2 separate regions of the Homo sapiens genome follow, and region 1 is linked to region 2. Evidence: promoter capture Hi-C in human tissues and cell types (Jung and others, 2019). All regions are on one chromosome and are shown on one strand. The core of a region is centred on a gene start or on the middle of the fragment in contact, and the rest is flanking DNA. Distances in the headings are between cores, read along the strand shown. Region 1 overlaps SORBS2 (sorbin and SH3 domain containing 2). Region 2 holds the start of HELT (helt bHLH transcription factor).

Region 1 (3,285 bases), core at 611-3,110, 580 kb before region 2:
TCTCAGCTTGTTGCTGCCATTGCTCACCACTAGGTGGCGACAGAGTGCAGCTGCATTACAAATCTCTGCTTAAGCGACTTGCCATTTGAGTTACATCACCAAGGGGAAAGGGCGAAAGACAGTCTCCCCAGATAATCTATTTACATCACCTTATAGGACATTTGCACCTACCTCAGCGTCAAAATTAAGATGCTGATTTTAGCCAAGGTAGGCCAAGTAGTCCATCATAGTAATCTTTCATGCAATAGCGTGCACATCGAAATTACCATTTTGTTTCTTTTTCTGTTTGTTTTTTACCTATTTGTCGTATTAAGAAATTATCCAGTATCTTTGGGTTTTGGTTTACCATTCTGCAAAATGGAGTTGAATTGTAACCATTATTTTTTTTTACGTGACCGAGACACATGAGAATTAACCAATCAATGTCAGTGTCCCAGCTCTCTGTGTAAAACTGATGACGGACACCTTTACACAGCAGAGGAAATACATCTGTGGAAATGTGTATCCTTCATGGAATCCCTGAGGGGACCCGATTAACCCTCATCTTGTCCAACTCATTGATTTCAGAGATAGGGAAGCTGAGGCATCCCCAAGGTTATATGGTGCTTAACGCCCAAAACAGAAAGACGCAGATGAGCCGTCTTAGATAACTGTTCTTGCTACTCATTCCCTACTAGTCAAATGCCTTTAAAATAAACTATTTCAAGTACTGTAATTAGTCAGCTTTCCTCAAAACTGTCTCCTAGTTATCCACATTAACATGGAGGTGATTCTTGTTAAAGGTAAGCTTTGAAAAGTTCTAAAACTCGCCATTATAAGACACACACAACTTCTCTGCTACGAAAAGTCTTGATTGATTCTGGCCTCAGGATGTGAACAGTATAGAAAACTGATGATTTGTGTGTAAAAAGAGGGGCAGGGTTTGAAAGATATGAAGGAAGGGAAAAGAGAAATTGGGAAACAGGTAAAAGCAAGGACGGGGGCCGGGCGCAGTGACTCACGCCTGTAATCCCAGCACTTTAGGAGGCCAAGGCGGGAAGATCACAAGGTCAGGAGATCGAGACCATCCTGGCTAACATGGTGAAACCCTGTCTCTACTAAAAATACAAAAATTAGCTGGGCACGGTGGTGCGTGCCTGTAGTCCCAGCTACTCGGGAGGCTGAGGCAGGAGAATCGCTTGAACCCGGGAGGCAGAGGTTGCAGTGAGCCAAGATCACACCACTGACCTCTAGCCTGGTGGCAGAGTGAGACTCCATCTCAAAAAAAAAAAAAAAAAAAAAAAGCAAGGACGGTGCTGGCTGCCCCACACAGGAACATACGTTCTCCAGCCATGGACGTGGGATCCAGGAAGCTGCAGGTTTGCAGCAATCACCAAATTTTCATAATGGTCAATGGGACAGTTCAGTTAAATGATTGATGAGGTGGGTTGAGTTAAAGGAATTAAACTAGTAGAATTATAATGATGATAACTAAAAAGGGATATACGGACTTTAAAAGTTGATTGTTTTACATTAATGAACAATTTGATTTTTAAAGTGGTATTCACATTTTAACAAAAGAGCAATGAAATGAAACTAACCAGTTTTACAAAGCATTGGATGCCATGATGTAGAAGTTGAAACTTTTACTCAATTTTAAAATATTAAAATGGTTTAAATGTGTGAAAACAGGGATGCCAATTTTAGAGCATAATGAAATATATTTTACACAACATTTTCTCTTAAGACAAGAATAAATAATATTTTCTTATTCATAACTTTATTATGCACTGCAAATGGTGCTATGATTGTTTTGGGGAAAGAGTAGTAGCTATCTTGGTATATGATATGCAGTCTGGCATATTAGACATTTTCAAGTTACTTTTGAGTACAGTATTTTTCAGTGACTAACATGTACATTCTCAAAATCATATGGCTTTAATGCATACTCTTTGGCCAGAAGTTTTACTCCTGGGAATATATTCTAAAGAATAGTTCAAAAGAAGAAAATAGCTCTTTGCATAAAAAATGTGTATAGCATTGCTGTTTATGATAGCAAAAAAAAAAAGACTAGACCAATTCTAACTTCAAAACTAAAAAAAAAAGAGAGGAATGGTTAAGAAAACTATGATATGTAGACACACGTGGGAGAACATTATTCTGCAGACATTTGAAATAAGAAAGAAGACTGAGAAAAAAAGACTGGAAAGTTATTACAAAATAATATTAATGGCAATTGATGTATACAAATCTTACTTCTGCATGAAAGTTTTATACATATATAAAGTTTTATTGGACTGGAAGAGAACTTGAAATAGGTAATATGATACAGGCTTATCAATGACTTACAATTACCATCTTATATATTTAAATTGATTTAATAATATCTTGAATTAAATGACCTTTAAGATGGTTGGAAAACTGGTTAGTCATAATTTTTCTTAAAATATGAATATCTTCCAATTTTAATAATAGATACATCATTAGTAGTCATATTGATTTACAGGAGTAAACTATTTCACTCTTAAGTCATAATTGTGTGCAGTAATTCTTACGCACTCTAGTTTTAAATATTCTATCCACAGACTGTTGAGTGAAATTTCTAAGAACACTGTTAATAAAGGTTTCCAGTTAACCGAGTCAGAGCTTACAGTTTTAGTACTGTGAGTACCTAGTCTTATGCTAGATAGACAAGTAGGATAGAAAGGGGGTGGATAAAGAATTTAGGAAGTGGGTGAATCATTGACTCGTAGACTGAAAGGAACCTCAGAATTATCCATCCAAGCTTGGATCAGTGGGGTTTCTATGGACAATTGGCAGCAAGAGATTTCAGCCTATCAGTAATCCACTCATAACTATGGAAATCTAAGAACTGGTCCCAAAGTCTAAGGACATGGATCTAATAGCTATTTCAGTAGTCATCAAACAGTCACTTATATAATTGCCATGCAAATTCTGATTTTACCCTGTAGCTATCATTTAGAAGCAAATGCTTTTGAAATGGATTATGAATGATTTGTTTGCATTTCTCCCCTAAAAGGTAAAGTTTAGGTAGTCAATATAAATTACACTGAGTTTATATATTCAACAAACATGTTAACTTTCATTCACTGAAAATATTAATGTGGGTATATGGGATGCTAAGGCTTGTCATTTCCAATATTATAAGTATCTATTACAGATACTGGTCTTGATGCTTAGTTTAAAAAGAAAAGAAACTCTTTTGAGAGTTCAGTGCACTGGAAATTTCTACCAATGTTTCTCTTCTAAGGTAAAATGTTACATGTTACCCGGATATTGTTCGTT
Region 2 (3,484 bases), core at 134-2,633:
AGGCGTCCCATTCCCTAACCTGTGCCCACCTTTTTCCCTTCCCCGGGGAAAATCAGCGGAGTGCAGTGCTCTCAGGTACTGAACGGTCATCTCGAGGATCTCCGCCTTCTCCAGCTTCCCGGAACTCTGCAAAAGGAGGAAGGGCCCCTCGCAGCGGCCCAGCGCCTGCTGGTCGGGCACTGTGGCGCTGGAGAGGACCAGCGAGCGGACGCGGCTGCGGATCTGCGCCAGAGCCTCCTGAGGTTCGCCCTGCGCTCAGGCCCCCCGCCTGGGAGGGGCCCGCAAGTGAGGTCCTCTGTGTCCGCGGGCTCGGGCGTCTCCGCAGAGTGGCCGCAGAGGCCTCCCAACGCCTGGCACCCGGCTCCGGGTCGCCAACGTTACCTGCTTCGCCAAGGCCATGGGCACTGTCTTGCCCAGCTCGTTCAAGCAGCGGTTGATCCTGTCCCTCCTCCGCTTTTCTATCACTTTATGAGAAACGGGGGTTCTCTGCGAAGAGAGGGTTGTATGTTTAGGATGGCTTTGCCCGGGAAGTCGTCAAAGGCGCGGCTCTAGCAGCTGGGTGCAAGCCGCCTCTCCAGCCGCGCACACTGCTCAGATTCGCTCTAGGAAGGGACTCCTGGCCCGCCACGCTCGGGCCAGGTGAGCTCTGCCTTCTGACGCCCGCGCTGGCGCGCTCCCCTTCCAGCCACCCTACCCAGGCCTTTGGGGAGGTGGCCGCCAGCCTCCAGGCAGGACTTCTACCTGGTTGAGCACCCTCCTCTCTCTACCCCACCCCCTTCCCAAACCACTCGAGATTCCTCCACACTCAAAGTCCCGTGCGGGCACTTCCCTGCCATCGGTCCACCCAAGTGGCGGGTCGGTGAGTCAGATGCCTCCACCACCAGGGCGCAAGTGCCATTTGGGCTCAGCCGACTCACTTTGCGTTCCTTGAGCTTGTCTGACATCCTGGTCAGTACGCGCCCTCGGGAGAGGCGGTGGCGCGGGGCACCCGTCCACTTTTCCGCCTCGTGTGCCTCCTCGAGTGTCCCAGGTAGACTGCAGCCTCCCAACTCCGAGGGCTGCCTTATAAAGCGGTCATCTAGGGCTCCAGATGCATTCACGAGTTGAATTATTCCATAGGATTAGGGGAGCTGCGTTTGGAGGATGTATGCATTCAAGATCAGTTTTAAAGAAGTTAAGAAAAAAAAAAAATTAGCAGCCGAGGGGGGCGAGCTGGGGGCAGATCAGCTTTGTTAATCCACGTGGCCCTTCAAAGGACACGTGATCGGCCCAGGAATAACATTTGCATGGCAACAGCTCGGGCGGGAAAAGGAGGCGGTAAACTGGGGCCGGCGGGCGAGCAAGCGCCTGCAGCAGTCGCGGGCGCGGAGCGCAGGGGCGCAGCGGCCGCGGGCACCGGGGGGCGAGGACCCTCACAAAACAGTGTCGCCTCTTTTAGTCCCACCGCTGAGTCTCACATGATCGCCTGTTTACAAATCCCAGCAAGCCCGCCGTCCCAGCGCCGAGTGCGTTTTAAAGCCTGTCCAGAGTCATTAAAGTAATTAAGTAAGCCTTTAATAGGCTGTTCCGCCGGGTTCAAGGGAGAGCTCTTGGAGACGGAGGCGCCCCGTTTGTTCCCAGGCTTTTCTCACACGACTTGGTGACACGTCCTTCTCCCCCCTTTTTGTTTACACCGCTTTATTTGTCCGGACATCCCGGCAGGTGTGGGGCTGCGGCTGGCACACGAGGCTCCCGCCTCGCCTCGCCTCGCCCCTCCCGCCGCTGTTTGGCACGCGACGCTCCCCCCTACTCCCTGACCACGTCGCTGGCTTTCTTTTCTCCCCACCCCTCCTGCTCCCTCTTCGCGGGGGGAAGAGGCTCAATTTGTAGCCTATTATCCTATACGAAAATGTCCATTGAAAAGTATGAATAGTTTCATTGGGCTAAATTTTAATAATGCCAGAGGGTGGGGGAGGAGAGACTGGCGGGCGTGTGTGTGTGTTTGTGTGTGAAGGGGCGGGTGGGAGGATTGGGGGGCAACACGGAGAAGAGTGGGCCGAGAAGAAAAGGGGGAATGCAGCTGGCCCAGGCAAGCATTATGCAACGTCACCTGCGAGAGGGGGCGCCTACAGACCCCTATTCATTTGCCTAATTTTGGTCAATTTAACAAACTTCAGGAGAAATTATTGTGGCTTTGTCAGGGAGGGTGAAGCCTTCTGATCGAATTAACAGCATGTTTTGATCCGGTAAATGTCATTAGAAAGGGAGAAACAATCGCGCTTAGAGGGCTCTGAGTAATGCGCCCAAGTGGAGACGCCAAAGCGCACGGCTCACAAAGGGAGCAAGTAGCTGCCACAGGGAACTTTTGTACCCGCCCATCGCCCAAGTTTTGACACAAAAAGGCATTATTTCATACTTGAATACGTTTAATCCAACGATTGTCTATTTTCTGCAAACATATTTTCACAGCATTGTTAACTTTTTATGTCTCCCTTTCGCTGGCGTCTTTTCTTAACGTTTGGGGGCGGGAGAGCGCAGACACTTTGGGCATCAATATTTGTCACTGAAAAGGGCCCTGTGAAGTTTGGGAAGTTGATCTCTTTTTTATGGTTTTAGAAAGCGAAAATATCGGGGGGAGGAGGAGGGAGGGAAGGCACGAACAGAAACGAGGGAGGAAATTTGCTGGACGGGCCCAAGGGGAAGGAGGGGGGCGGCGGCGGCTGGGAACTCTCTTGGCCGCCTGCGCCTCTGAGGGCAACCTGGCCCCGCGGCCAGAGGCCACCTCCCCCAGGACGGGCCTCGCTCACACTTGCTGCCTCGGATCCTATACTCTGGGGGCTCTGAGCTTGTGGGGTGTGGGTGGGGGGTGAGCTTTCTTGCAGATTGAAACGATAAAAATGATTTTTGTTTTATGGCCCTTTCTAGAGCCACCGAACTCTCACCTCTCTAATCTTTTCCATCTGGGAACAGCTGAGACCGCTTCTCAGATTTTTCTTCTTTTCTGCCTGCCCCTAACCCTGCCTAAATTCTCTCTGTTCTGCAGGGAGATGGCAGGGCCCAGCGCCCCCCTTGGGGTCGTTAGACCTTGGCAGGGGTGGGTAGGCGGCGCTCTTCTAGCTGGTGGGACCTGGGAGCCTCAGGGCGCAGAGCCAGGCCTGGGGTGCCAGGCCTCGGGGAAGCCATCGGCCCACCTGCTGCGGCCTGGGAGATGTGAGGGCTCGGTCTGCACCTCGCACCCCTAGGGTGTCCCTCTCGGTCCTGCCTCTAGTCTCCTCACGATGTTTCCTTTCTGCTTCACGCCAGATTGGACACGATCCGCACCCTCCCAGGTTGCTCTGCCAGCCGCGAGTGCCCTCTCAGGGGTTGTCGATTTCAGGATATTCACTCGCACACAAAGAGATTAAACGCGAACCCTTATCATCCAAATTAACTAACGTGAATGGGTAAAAAGGAGCGCGCACACTTCGCACTCCCACTCCCATTTTTAAGCCAGCGGCCCGGGCGT

What was found. Contacts are between HindIII fragments. The study calls those that stand out against the background at their distance.
Region 1: a fragment that was not itself captured here is called in contact with the fragment with the promoter of HELT in region 2 in 1 of the 25 tissues and cell types used here (lymphoblastoid cells).

What each region holds. Positions count from the first base shown.
Region 1 is chr4:185,594,529-185,597,813 of GRCh38, reverse strand. All of the region lies in intron 24 of SORBS2 (sorbin and SH3 domain containing 2), which reads left to right. Among named protein-coding and RNA genes, the nearest start is that of SORBS2-AS1, 8.2 kb to the right of the region's middle. The HindIII fragment of the contact is 3,647 bases long and covers 37-3,285 here.
Region 2 is chr4:185,016,389-185,019,872 of GRCh38, reverse strand. It overlaps HELT (helt bHLH transcription factor), which reads right to left and starts at 1,383. Exons shown (of 4, transcript NM_001300781.2): 1 at 918-1,383; 2 at 382-486; 3 at 30-126. The coding sequence starts at 944. RefSeq lists enhancers at 394-973, 974-1,552, 1,553-2,133. The HindIII fragment of the contact is 22,587 bases long and covers 1-3,484 here.